Regions from separate parts of the Homo sapiens genome. Here region 1 is linked to region 2. The links are contacts of gene promoters, found by promoter capture Hi-C in blood cells and fetal thymus (Javierre and others, 2016). All regions are on one chromosome and are shown on one strand. The core of a region is centred on a gene start or on the middle of the fragment in contact, and the rest is flanking DNA. Distances in the headings are between cores, read along the strand shown. Region 1 overlaps LOC124901245 (a long non-coding RNA gene). Region 2 holds the start of SERPINB1 (serpin family B member 1).

Region 1 (7,199 bases), core at 4,294-6,793, 1.2 Mb after region 2:
AAATTACAATCAAAATTCCAACAGATCTTTTTCTTGCATCATGTAAAGCTAATTCTTTAAAAAAGCATGAACAATAAGGATTTTTTTTAAAGTCAGGAAATTTCTGAAGACACTAGAGGAAGCTGCCCTATCAGACATAAAGACTTACTGTGAAGCTGTGGTAATTAAGGCATAATAAAACAAATTGGACAAATTAACTGAATTAAATAGGAAACTACAACAGACCCACACATTTATGGGACTTTGGCTATGCCAGAAGAAACACATGATATTGATGGGAAAATTAGGAACTATTCAATAAGTGGAGGTGGAAAAAATGATTATGCATGTAGTTAAAGGCGAAAATTAGAGTTCTGTATCATACAAGATATAAGATCCAAATCCAAATGTATTAAAAACTATAATGTCAAAAACAAAACTTAAATTCTCTTAGTAGAAAGCACACATGAAAATATTTTAGATTAATGGAAGAATTTTAAAAATTTAAACAATACAAAAAAAGCACTAACTATAAAATACAAATGATATACATTGACTTTTAAAATTAAAAAATTTTTGGCTGGGAGTGGTGGCTCACGCCCGCAATCTCAGCACTTTGGGAGGCCACGGGGGCGGATCACAAGGTCAGGAGTTTGAGACCAGCCTGGCAAACATGGTGAAATCCCGTCTCTACTAAAAATACAAAAAATTAGCCGGGCATGGTGGCCCATGCCTGTAATCCTAGCTACTCGGGAGGCTGAGGCAGGAGAATTGCTTGAACCCAGGAGGCATAGGTTGCAGTGAGGCAAGATCACGCCATTGCACTCCAGCCTGGGTGACAGAGCAAAGCTCTGTCTCAGGAAAAAAAAAAAAAAAAAAATTAAAAATTTTTTGTTCATCAAAATGTATTTTCAGGCCAGGCGTGCTGGCTCATGCTTGTAATCCCAACACTCTGGGAGGCCGAGGCGGCTGGATCACCTGAGGTCAGGAGTTTGAGACCACCCTGGCCAACATGGTGAAATCCCATCTCTACTAAAAATACAAAAATTAGCCAGGCATGGTGGCAGGCCTCTGTAATCCCAGCTACTCAGGAGGCTGAGGCAGGAGAATTGCCTGAACCTGGGAGGCAGAGGTTGCAGTGAGCCAAAATCGCGCCACTGCACTCCAGCCTGGGCAACGTAGCCAGGATCTGTCTCGGGGGACAGGGAAATAAATTTAACAGTGTATATTTAATTGGTTTGATAAATTGTACGAGCAAATAATTGGTCAGTACATAGATATATATGTTAGTTAACTAAAAATACTAAGTAGTTACAGAAAGTAATGACCTATATTTTCCTTTATGAGACTCTTTTTAATAAGAGTTTAACTTAAATAAATACAATACACCTAAGGCTAGTATAGGGTGGTTTTTCTAGCTCCACCTTTTAACTGTTCTTAGCCTCTTCAGGACACAAATTTTATTTTGTTTATTAAAACCATGTGAAGTGGCATTGTTACTATCCCTTGCCCTCCTTTTTATAAAAAATTGAGGAAGAAACTGAGGCTCAGAAAGACTGAGTAGTCTTTCTAGACCACGAAGCTAGTTAAGTTATGGTTCCAGGATTTAAAGCCTGACAACTGACCCCAGGATCAACATTTAATCACTAGGCTATCACTGTGATGTGAGATAATCTATGTACTAAAAAGCCATATCAGACCATATAAAAGACAGGCTAGACAGTAAGTAAACTTGTAACCATGCCCTCTGTTTGCCCTTACTCTGAGAAGATTTCTATTAAGTTTGCAATATGAGGCAATCTCTGCTATGACTTCATGATAAGGAAAAAATCATGCTGGTCCTTTGCTGCCCTCTTATGGAAGATGTACATAGATATACAAAAAATTCCCAGCCAATAACTGCAGTCTAACTTTGCCACCATAACTAAACTATTTCAGGTGTACCTAGCTTTACATGATAGATAAGATTCTAGAACAATGCAACTGGTACATAAAAGGTACTCAGTGAACGTGCAGAACTGCAATGAAAACTTTCTGTCTCTTTGATATGCACTAAGCGCTTGATCTTATAAAAATCCTATGATAAATTATTTAAATGGCAAATCGCCCTCCAATTTAATTGTTGTGGTATACAGATTTATATATATCATATTTATTTAACATTATAAAATGTTATCATGTGGCCAATTTATTCACAATAAAGGTATGAATAAAATAATAATCTAAAAATGTCAGTTTAATCACTTGTTTCAAGCAACTTTGTCTCTTTTTAAGGCCAAAATCTAACAAATAATCTAAGTGAATGGTTTGAGTTTCTTCTAATTTCTTGCTCTTTATTTAATCTCTGTTTGTTGTGACCATGATTTCTCTTAGAAGAGACTAAGTGTCTTGAACTCTGAGATGGGCCTAAACAATTCAAAACAAAATCTATGAAGAGCATTGCTCGAAGTTTTAATGTAGGGAAATAGTTCTCTCCCTAGCCATTTTGGTTTTGACAAGGCTGTGAACGATTAAACACTAAAACCGATAATCTTATGGAGGCAAAACAGTGAGTGATTTTTGCAACTAAACAGCAATGAAAATTATTTCACTAAGTTATGGATGGTCTTACATGGATGAGCTTATGCAAGAGCACTTCTCCAGGCTCTCTACTAGAATGGAGTGTTTAGATCCTTAGAGTTAGACTTCACCTGGCTCTCTTCACCAGTACAAAAGGCTACATACCTCACTGAGATGTGTGATGTGTATCATTCCTAAATATTGGGTAGCTATTACAGTTTTTTTTTTAAAAGTATCAAAAAATATTGCCTAGATGTAGCTTTATCACAGAACATGCTAATTTTTCAAAGGCTTTCCTAATTCATGTCTTCCTCCCTATTTTCGATATTACACTAGTTCAGGCTCTTACAATTTTACGTTCATCCATCAAACACTGTATTTCTTGAGCACCTACTATTATGTGTAAGCACTGTGTTAGCAGGTAGGCCAGAGTGATAAACAAAAGAGACATGGTCTGATCTCATATAGTTTATAGTCTAATAAGAAAACAAACAAACAGGCCGGGTGCGGTGGTTCACGCCTGTAATCTCAGCACCTTGGGAGGCCAAGACAGGCGGATCACCTGAGGTCGGGAGTTTGCGACCAGCCTGACCAACATGGAAAAACCCTGTCTCTACTAAAAATACAAAATTAGCCAGGATGGTGGCACATGCCTGTAATCCCAGCTACTCGGGAGGCTGAGGCAGAAGAATTGCTTGAACCTGGGAGGTGGAGGTTGTGGTGAGCCGAGATTGCACCATTGCACTCCAGCCTGGTGACAGAGTGAAACTGCGTCTCAAAAAAACAAACAAACAAAACACACAGGAAAAAAAGAGAAACTGACACCAAACAAACAGGCAAATAAATATACTGACAAACAGTCCAACAAGGTTTTATCAGGGAAAATAATAGGATACTTTAAGAAAGTTATAGAAAAAAACAGGTCCTAATTTATCTAGGAACCAGAGGGAAAGCTGTTATTTAGATAAGGGCTATCTGTGAGACGGACATTTAAGCCAACACTTGAAAAATAAGTCATGGTGATCAAGAGGAAGAGTGAGAACAGAGAAATCCAGGCAGTAGAAATATCAAAAACCCTAAGCTTTAATGTAGGAAAAAGCATGGCATGTTTTAGGATTAACACAAGGGCCAGTGTGGCTGAAAGATTAAACTGAAAAATAGGCAAGGTTTAAATAATCAAGGCTTTACAGCCACATTAAGAAGTTTGACTTTTATTTGATTTTTATTCCAAGTAATACAGTACATATATATAATTTCCCAATAAGTATTTTGGAAATTATTTTATTCATGATTTGGAAAATACAATCCTAAGAACAGATCTGCATGATAGAAAGATAATATGTATTCTAGAATTCTGAATCCTTTTTTTTTAATTATTATTTTTATGTATTTATTTTTGAGACAGGTCTCACTCTGTCACCCAGGCTGGGGTGCAGTGGCGCAATGACAGCTCACTGCAACCTTGAACTCCTGGTCTCAAGTGATCCTCCCACTTCAGCCTCCTGAGTAGCTGGGGCTATAGGCATGCTGCACCATGCCCGAATTCTGAATCCTTTACTGGAAACCTCACCTTTCCTCCAGTCACAAGGACCCCCCTGGGCTTCCATACTGCACTCGTCCCACTTCCTGACCTGAGGACACACCCAGCAATACCACTTCCTCTCCTACAGTAAGGCTAGCACTTTCTGGGACCCAAACCTAGCCTAGTTATGACACCTAAACACAAACTAAGCCACAACCTACTTATCCAGTCACAGCCAGTACCAAGGAGCCCTGGACTCTTTCTAACTCTTCCTATGTCAATGGCTGACCAAAGACCAATTGCATTGAAGAAGTTTTATAATATATGATTTACTAACTAAGGCATAACAAAGAAGAATAAACAACCTGTTTTTGAAAGCAAATTCTAAAAGTGAAATTTGCAACTATATGGATATTGTTAGCAAAAATATGTCTATGCTACATTTGTCCCATTTTAAAAAATGAATATGCATTTATTTAGAAAATATCTCCTAAATACATACCGTATCCTAGACATATTTTCAAAATGCAGAAGCACACAGTAGAAACTAAAGTTATTTTTCATTAAAAAGTGCAATTTATATTAGCAAATAATGGGTTTATTGATATTTTAAGTGAATTAATAAAAATTTTTACATTTCTCAATGTTAATAGATTACAACAAGTATTAGCAGGTATTACCTTCATAAATAAAAGCTCTTCGATCATTTTTAAGGCCATAAAGGGGTCCTCAGACCAAAATGTTTGAGAACCACTGTCACTGGTTCAGGAAGAGACTAAAAAGAGGAAAGAAAGTTAGGAAGATGGTTTTGTAGGCATGAATGCCTGTTTTAGTATACCTATAGAGGGAATGAATCACATTTGAGACAATATGAATTAAGGACATTAACATCCCTAAATATTAATAGCTAAAGATTTGTGGTATCTCTCTTATTATATATTCAAAATAAAACAACATTAAGCCATAGAATAAATGTGATGAAATCCAACATATCTCTGAGATTTTCTGATTTCAATGATCTTTTTGAAATATCAAGTAACACAACCTTCCACCCACACCATACATTTTTAGATTCTCTTGTTTTGATGATACCCAAAACGTGCTCATTGTAAATACTAGGCAAACAGGCTCCTTGCTACTCTAAGTGACTTCCATTAACCAGTACCAGCATCCCATGGGAACTTGCTGGAATTGCAAAAGGGAAGACCTCACCCCAGACCTACTAAATCAGAATCCACATTTTAGAAAGATTCCCTAGATGATTTTTACATGCGGTGGACTTTGAGAAACACTGGGCTAACTAATATAGATGCTTAGGAATTCGTTATTGATCAATGTTAGATCCATAGAAAAGAAGAAATTTCAAAGGACTTACAGGATGGATGGTGATTATAACGTTATGAAATGACCCTTTGATAATGTATTCAATTCTCTGGCACATGAAATTGATATTTTATTTGCGATACACATAGTAAAACAAATATATATTCTCCAGCTTTCACAGAATGTATAAAACATAGTAAACAGATTTCCAGGATCTGTGTAATGAATTTTTGGAATCCACGCTTATGTTATTATGCTAAAAATTCATGAGAGAACCTTTGCTTCCTGCTATATAGAACAGCAGGAACCAGACTTAACCTGCTTAATAACTAGAAAACCAGACAAAATATAAAACCAACTGTGTCAGATGCTGGACAACAGATAGCACAGCACTATGATCCCTAGGAGCAGAGAAGCAAATGAAGAGAGCCCTAAAACTACTACAGTTTTTGGCCTGAATGCCATTACAAACTGCAGAAGAGGGAAGAGAATTTCAAGTAGACCACAGTAGTGCAGATAAATTGAGGTATTTAGAGGCTAGTCTTCTGAGAGTCTGAAGTAACTGAAAGTTGCAGGGCAGGGACCTGGAGAGGTGGGAGACAGACAGAAAAAAATGTGAATAGGGGTGTGATTTTACATGAGGCTGCACAAAGAGGAATTACGTGACTATGAGCTGGATGGTTCCAGTATTGCACATACAACTGAATGTGACAAGGACAGACAAGGATGCCCACACTTATCACTTACATTCAACATAGTACTAGAAATCCTAGCCACAGAAATTAGGCAAGGAAAAGAAATAAAAGGCATCCAAATCAGAAAGGAAGAAGTAAAATTGTCTCTGCAGGTGACATCATCCTATATACAGAAAACCCTAAATACGCCACTAAAAACTGTTAGAATGAATAAACGAATCCAGTAAAGTTTCAGGATACAAAATCAACATACAAAAATCAATTACACTTCACTAACAGTGAAGTATCCAAGAAAGAAATTAAGAAAGCAATCCCATTTACAATAGCATCAAAAGGAATAAAATACTTAGGAATAAGTTTTACCAAGGAGGGGAAAGATGTGTATGCTAAAAGCTATAATACATATATGAAAGAACTGGAGATGACACAAATAAATGGAAAGCTATCCCATGTTCAGGATCAGAAGAATCATTATTGTCAAAATGTCTGCAATACACAAAGTAGTCTACAGATTCAACGCAATCTCTAGCAAAACTCCAATGACATTTTTCACAGAAAAAAAAAAAAAATTCCTAACATCCATACAGAACCCAAAAGACCCAGAATATCTAAAATGATCCTGAGCAAGAAGAACAAAGCTGGTGGCATCACACTTCATTTCAAATTATATTACAGACCTACAGTAATCAAAACTGTATGGTACTGGCATAAAAGGAGACATATAGACCAATGGAACAGAATAGGAATCCCAGAAATAAATCCTCGTTTATGTGGCCAACTAATCATCAACAAAGGTGTCAAAAGTACACAATAAAGAAAGGATAGTCTCTTTAATAAATGGTGTTGAAAAAGCTAGATAACCACATGCCAAGAAATGAAATTGGACCCTTATCTTACCCCATCCACAAAAGTCAATTCAAAATGGTTAAAAGAGGCCAGGCGCAGTGGCTCTTGCCTGTAATCCTAGTCCCTTGAGAGGCTGAGGCGGGTGGATCACTTGAGGTCAGGAGTTCAAGACCAGCCTGGTGAAACCCCATTTCTATTAAAAATACAAAAATAAACCGGGCACAGTGGCACATGCCTATAATCCCACCTACTCGGGAGGCTGAGGCAGGAGAATC
Region 2 (7,202 bases), core at 4,514-7,013:
CACCTCACCTTATTCAATCTGAATGGTGCATTCGTCGTGGCTTCTTTCATGAATTTATCCTTCCAGTTTCCCTTGAAATAGATGGCATTTACTAGCACAAGTTTGGTCATGTTATCAACCATGCCCGAAGCCAACAGTTCCGGAATTTTTCCTAAAAAAAAATCAAGTTAGCGTAAAAAAAATCCAAATCGGAATTCCAAATTTGAACTGACAATATATTAGCACGGAAATGCAATTCAAATATATAATTTCTACTTAATTTTCATTTAACAAGATATTAACTTAGGAAAGCCCTACTCACTAACATGTCTCTACTTTAAGTATAACAACCTGTGGGGCAGACAGACCAGGATGACACACAAACTTCCCACAAGGACCTGACATTTTAAACAAGTCAAATGTGCCGAAAGACAAAAGACAGGAAAATTCTCCTTTTCTGGACTGTATGATAAACAATGAGCCTTATTTTGTAACAACCATTCTTTTTTAGAAAAAAAAAATTCTTAATGAAGATATCTTTAGTCATCAGTAAATCACTTCTTCAAATCGCTGAGTAGATGCCTACTCTCACAAAAAAAGGTTTAAACAATATCCAAAAGGCAGAACAAGACCAAGCATGGTGGCGCACACCTGCAGTCCCAGTGCTTTGGGAGGTGGAGATGAGAAGATTCCTTGAGCCCAGGAGGTCAAGGCTGCAGTGAGCCACGATCGCACCACTGCACTCAAGCCTGGGCGACAGAGCAAGACTCTGTCTCTTAAAAACAAAAAACAAACAAACAAACAAAAAAACCAGCAGAACATACTCCATGGAAATAAAGGTCACCTTCGTGACCATAAGTATGGCTGGGAACAATTCCCATAATGGAAGACAGGTCTTCTGGAGTGGGTTGACTAATACAGGGCTATGTAAGAAGAGAGATGTAGCAAAGAAATAAATTGCACCCTAAAAGCAAGTCAGTCCCCACCTACCACAACTTTTTTACTGGACAAGATGTTGGCAAAAAATTTACAACCACAGTAGTTTGTGAATATTGATTTCAGGTATTTCCATGAAATTCCAGGACATTTCTTTCCATATGAGTATTAGGTAATTTTTGGCAGGCTGAATTCTCCTCAAAATTTTAATTCCTTTTTTGCTGTATTCAGTGTTGGTTTTAACTTTATTTTTTATTTTTTATTATTTTTATTATTTTTTTTACGACGGAGTCTCGCTCTGTTGCCTAGGCTGGAGTACAGTGGCATGATCTCGGCTCACTGTAACCTTTACCTCCTGTGTTCGAGAGATTCTCCTGCCTCAGCCTCCAGAGTAGCTGGGATTACAGGTGTGTGCTACCACACCTGGCTAAATTTTTTGTATTTTTAGTAGAGACAGGGTTTCATCATGTTGGCCAAGCTGGTCTTGAACTCCTGACCTCAAATGATCCGCCCGCCTTGGGCTCCCAAAGTGCTGGGATTACAGGCATGAGCCACCGCGCCTGCCAATGTTGGTTTTAACTTTGAAATGCAACTTTAAAAGTTTTGGGGAGCTGATGAGAAAAAAGGATTTAGCTGCTTGAGTTAAATCATGTTTAAGTTTCCACTCTGGTGAACTTCGAACATGTGAGAGCTGTCCAGCAACGTGCAGTGCAGACTTCACGCACCGGCAGCGTCCTCTGACTGTAACCACGATGTGCGCCAGGACTGTGGGAGCTGGGGAGGGAATAACTGCAGGTAGGGAAGGCGGACTGAGGAAACGAATGACATGACCAGCGCATAATGATTCCATTCTGCCCAGGCTCTCACCTTCTGTCTGTCCTTTGACCCACTGGTTTATGGTCTTCCTTGCATCTTCAGAGGCATGCTGAAAATCCACACTGGCCAGGTCAGCACCATATGTTTTCTGAGTCGAAACCAAGAACTCCTATTAAAAAAAAGGAAAAGGAAATATATATATAACTCCTACTACATATAGAAATTGTTTTCTAAAATCCCAAAAAGCAACAGAAATTGTCCTAAAAGGCTACAATTCCATGTAACACAAAATTTCTAACTCTTATAGTTTTTCTTATAGTAGTAAAAATCATTTAACATTAAATTTACGATCTTAGCCACTTTTAACTGTGCATTCCAGTAGTGGTAAGCCTAACCCTTATACTGTTGTTGTTATATAGAAATTACCACTCTTTTCTGAACTTTGACTAAGATTTCACAAACACTGATTGTACTCTTGCTTCAGTAAAACCTCCAAGAGCTATCTTTTCACTAAAAAGACTGTAACACAAAATCACCATGTCAATTAAAGTTTGCATTCTGTCGTGTTTGCCTTCCATATTGTTTTTGCCATGTTTGCCTTCTGTATTGTTTTTCTGAAAGTTTACAAATATTAAAACTGACCTCCATGACTTGATTGTGCTGGAAAATATCTGCACTGTCTAGTGGGGTTTTAGAATGTGAAGGGCAAAGTACTTACAGGAAGGAAATTGTAAGTTTTCTCTCCATATAATCTATTAGCAAGTTTCAGAATATAAGACGCTCCACGTTTGTTGATATCAGCATTCAGACTCTGGAATCTTGAATGAACCTCTTCAACCGTGTTGAAATGGAAAGTCTAAAATAAAGAAAATCTTCTTTCTACAACCATTTATTTTGAAACTATAAAGTGATTCCTTGGTGTTTCCTTCTATCACATTAAATTAATGTGTTTTTATTACTAATTATTGATGATCCCAAACCCAATACTTTATTAATTTGTCATTGCAGAACAAACAATAGGAAATCCAAAATTTATGGCTTCGTGAGACAGAATGTTTACAACTTTACACATTGCTTTTACATCACTCTTTGTTACACTTGCAGTTCCACAAATGTGGGTGGTTAAGATACTAAATATTTATATATAAGTCTGCCTTTTCCAAAGAAAATAATAAATGGTATGTTCATATTTATATTCTGTATCAAATATAATTTTACTGAAAGTTCTCAGAAATAAGCAGTAAAAATAGGATTCATCCTCTATTCAGAACCACAAAGATAGTACAGACTGAAGCTTTTAAAATTTTATTACCCTATTAACATCAGTAACTCACTTATTTTAAAATAACTTCCTTAAACTTAACATTCTGGCAAAAGTTTAATTCCCCATGTATCAGTTACAAATCAAGAGGCCCTTTGTGGTTTTATGAGACCTAGGCTGGTTCCTTTATGATTAAGACACAAAGAACAAAATTGCATAGGGTACGAAGTCCACATTACTCACCGAGATATGGAATGTTTGCACTGTGCCTATGCTCCATCTGCTTTAATGGAAATGGGGGAGGAGTCCTTAAAACTATTCTTTGCTGAGGTTTTAAAGTCCCTGGAAAACCTCAAGCTAGGAACTGATATAACCCTGCAAGAAGCAACTAACAATTAGTAACAGAGGTTTTTTTTTTTTAATGGATTTAAAAAAAACATTTAAAATGCTTTCATATCTAAAGTGATGAGTAATAGAAGTTTCGCAGCCCCTTGAACTTGAATCCCAGGCTGCACCTTGCCAAGGAACAGGTGCAGTGTAATTTGCGGCAGGTATGTTAGAAGAGCCTCCACTTTTACCACTCCTTTCTGCTGAGCTTAGAGAGAGAGAGCTAGAGTTCTCTTCTCAGAATTAAAGAGTACCAAGCACAGAAGTCCTCTCCATGTCCATTATGGACAAGAAGGAAGGCTGGGCATGAGAGTGACCTGTCACATCGCCAAGGGCTGGGTCCCGCCCCTGAAGCTGCGGGTCTCCCCCTCACCTCCCCTGCAGGGCGTGCTATGCCACAGCCCACTGAGCCATGCGCAGCACCCTGGGACTACAGAACCACAGGGTCACTTTTTCTCTTTTCCTTGCAAAAAAGCAATGCCACTATCTCCACTATAATGCATTCCCTATGTCTTATTCCTCTCATTATGCTTGAAAGTAGTGTTATATAACAGGCAATATTTATGAGTTGCATATCATCATATGCAAAGCAAAAACTGGAAGATGCTAGCTCAGGAGGATGTAGTATGCCTTTCAGGAAAGCTGTCAGATTCATCCACTGGAACAGAAGCCTCGCCCTGCAGGGATTTTTGTCAGCTTTGCTCACTGCTGTCTCCTCAGCAATACGAAAAACAGTTCCTGGTACGTGGTAGGTACTTAGGAAAAACCTGATGATGAATGGAAGCCTGCATACAAGTGTGACTTTTCTGAAAGTCTGATCTCATAAAAATACAGTTCTGAAAACACAAGGTAAGAGCTCAAAGGCACAACCTTTCCATGCAGACTGTCCATTCGTAGGGAGATGGGAGGAAAGCAGACCCTTTTTTTTGTTTCTGCTGACCTTGGACAGCTGTGCTGCCGTGTTACCTCTGGTCCCCAGAAAAACCATGGCCATAGCAGATGAAATGCTGAAGGGAGAGATGAAGATGTTTCCAGCCGGATTGTTCTCACTCAACGCCAGGAACAGGTCCAAGGCGAAGCGGGTGTTTGCTGAGCTCAGCTGCTCCATGGTGAAAACTGCAACACAGAACAGGGTCCTCATGGTGCCCACTGCCCACGCCAGCAGATTAGGCAGCACTATTTCTCCAGAAGCTTCCTCAATTTCTGCCAACCGCCCTGAGGCATCCTGGATCTTGTACTTTCTCCCCGCTTTTTTATTCCAGCAGGGCAAGAACACTTTCCCAGGCCCACAAATGTGGGACCATTCTGGCCAAGGACTCAGCAGTTATAGGGGATTTTAGGGCACCCAGGGTGCCCTAAAGGGCTCTGACCTTGCAGACAGGTGAGTCTGGGGGTGGGGCGGGGGTAAGGCAGGCCCCAGCTACCCCAGCTTTAGTGGGGTGGGAGGGCCCACCCAGCCCTGGGTCTTCCCAACCTATGTGTGGGAGCGCACGTGCTTCTGAGCCTTTGATTCAAGTCTCTGATTCATTGGGCAATGAATCCATTGCCTACCTTCACCTGAACTAAGAGCCTTCTATCAGAGACTCAGCTACCTACTATGCATTAAAACTCCAGCAAAGGTATCACTGTAATTATTATAATAATATAATTCTTCCTTATTTTTGAGGTTCAAAAGGTATGAGGTCCAGTGCCCACAGTCTCAGAGCCGGTGTAGGATGTGCCAGTTTGGAAACCCACCACAGTCCAGGGTCTGGCCGTGCAGCGTCCCATCCGCCACCCACTAGCCCATCTCGATCTCCACTCTCAGAGCCCTGATTTCCCCCGAGGACAGGCAAAGAAGAACCGTGCTGGCTGCTCGGCATGTAAGCACAAAGCTGATTTCTCCTTGTTGTGAAATCGTCTCTAGAATCGCACGGGGTTCCTCCTCTCTCTCCCTGCAGCTGCAGATAGGAGCCGCGGCCTGGCCCTGGGCTGCCTGGAAACCGTCACAAACAGCTCTGGGAGGAAGGGAATTCAGGGAGAAGGGACAACATTCTGATCTCAGGTTTCAGTCTTGCCTTCCGCCTGCATCTGTCGTCCTCCCTCCCTCCCTCCCTCGCGGGCTGGCCCGGCCTGTACCCAGGCGGGGGCGGGGGATCAGAGGTCGTCTGTCTCCGTCGGGGCGCCCGGAAGGGATGGGGGCGCGAAGCTGGCGGGGAGGGCGAGCGCAGGGAGCTGCGGGTCTGAGGGGCCTGAGCCTGGGGGGTGGGGGGTGCCGGGCTGGAAGCTGAGCGAGGGAGCCTGGCCTCTCCCCGCGCCCGCCCCCGCGCCACCGCTCCGAGGCCCGGCCTTACCCGACAGGCCGCCGAGGCACGCTCCGGGCTCCGAGCTGGGTGCGAGGTCAGGAAGGAGGCACCGAGGGCCGCTGCTCTTATAGCAGGCGGAAGCGTCACCCGGGCCAGCAGCCGCGGGCGGGGCGGCGGCCCTTCCCGGTGACTGCGTAGGAGTCCGAGCTCCCGAGGTCGCCTAAGTGCAAGCAGAAGTGAGCGTGGCTTCCGGGCAGCGCCCTCCTCAGGGGCGCGGCTTCTTTCTCAGTTCAAAGCCTTTCCCCGAATCTCTGGCAAGGACCTGAAAAGCTTTTTCTTACTAAGGTGTGAATGACTGAGACGACATATTGTGACACCTCTTAGAGGGCAAATGACTCCCTTTGAGTCCCATCTATATTGGGAGCTTTCTTTGAGAGAAGGAAGCAAATTTGGGGATCTTGCACAGGGAAAAAGAGGGGCCCCCAGAATCAGATGAAACAGAACCAGTTCCAAACACCTGCTCTCTGTTTCCAAGATGACAGCTTGCTGCTGCGTCCTCAATGGTGGAAAGTGGAAGGGCAAAAGGGGCCAAATCTCATGTGAAGTCTCTCGTATAAGGGGCCAATCCCATTCATGAGGAAGGTGCCCTCATAATCCAGTCACCTCCTAAAGGCACCACCTGTTAGTATTGCATTGAGGATTGTTTCAGCATGAATTTTGCAGGGAACACAGACATTCAAAGCATAGCATTCTGCCCCTGCCCTCCAAATTCATACCCCTCTCACATGCAAAATGCATGCATTGTATCCCAGTGGCCTCCAAAGTTCCAGTATCAACTTTAAAATGTAAGTCCAAAGTCTCACCTAAATATCTTCTAAATTAGAAAGGCATAAGATTCAAAGTACAATTCATCCTAAGTGAAATTCCCCTCCAGCTATGAGCCCGTGAAATCAAATAGGTTACAGGCCTTCAAAATACAGTGATGAGACAGGCATAGGACGTACATTCCCATTCCCAAAGGGAGAAGCAGGCAAGAAGAAAGGAGTATCTGGTCCCAAGTAAGTCCAAACCCAACAAGGCAAACAGCATTAAATCTTGGGGCTTCAGAATAATCTTCTTTGATGCTGTGTCCCCCATTCCGAGCACAGGGGGGTGGAGACTGGGTCCCCTAGTGTCCAGGGGATCCACTCCCATGGATTTGCCAGGTGCAACCCATGCAGCAGCTCTCACAGGTTGAGGTCTAGGCTCTCCCAGGATAGACTTGCATGCTGGTGGCTGGACAGTTCTGGGTTCTCAGGGACAGCCCTGTTCCCACAGCTCCACTAGATATTACTCTATTTGGGGCTCTCTGCAGTGGCCCCAATCCCACTGCTCCACTAAACATTGCCCTAGTGAGGGTTTTCTGCAGCAGCCTCACCTCAGTGACAATTCTCAGACTGGGCCCCCAGGGTCCCCAACACATCCTTCAAAATCTAGGTGGAGGTGGCTGTGTCTCCACAGTTCATGCACTCTGTGCACCTGCAGAGTTAGCATCACGT

What was found. The method cuts DNA at HindIII sites, captures the fragments that hold promoters and counts their contacts. A CHiCAGO score of 5 or more calls a contact.
Region 1: a fragment that was not itself captured here is called in contact with the fragment with the promoter of SERPINB1 in region 2 in 2 of 17 cell types (non-activated CD4 T cells and activated CD4 T cells); the score reaches 6.4 in non-activated CD4 T cells.

What each region holds. Positions count from the first base shown.
Region 1 is chr6:4,006,766-4,013,964 of GRCh38, forward strand. It overlaps LOC124901245 (a long non-coding RNA gene), which reads right to left. Exons shown (of 2, transcript XR_007059415.1): 2 at 1-4,835. Among named protein-coding and RNA genes, the nearest start is that of PRP4K, 11 kb to the right of the region's middle. The HindIII fragment of the contact is 3,852 bases long and covers 3,618-7,199 here.
Region 2 is chr6:2,836,100-2,843,301 of GRCh38, forward strand. SERPINB1 (serpin family B member 1) reads right to left here and starts at 5,764. Exons shown (of 7, transcript NM_030666.4): 1 at 5,713-5,764; 2 at 4,320-4,495; 3 at 2,450-2,587; 4 at 1,783-1,900; 5 at 9-151. The coding sequence starts at 4,487. RefSeq lists a silencer at 5,659-5,708. The HindIII fragment of the contact is 1,424 bases long and covers 4,569-5,992 here.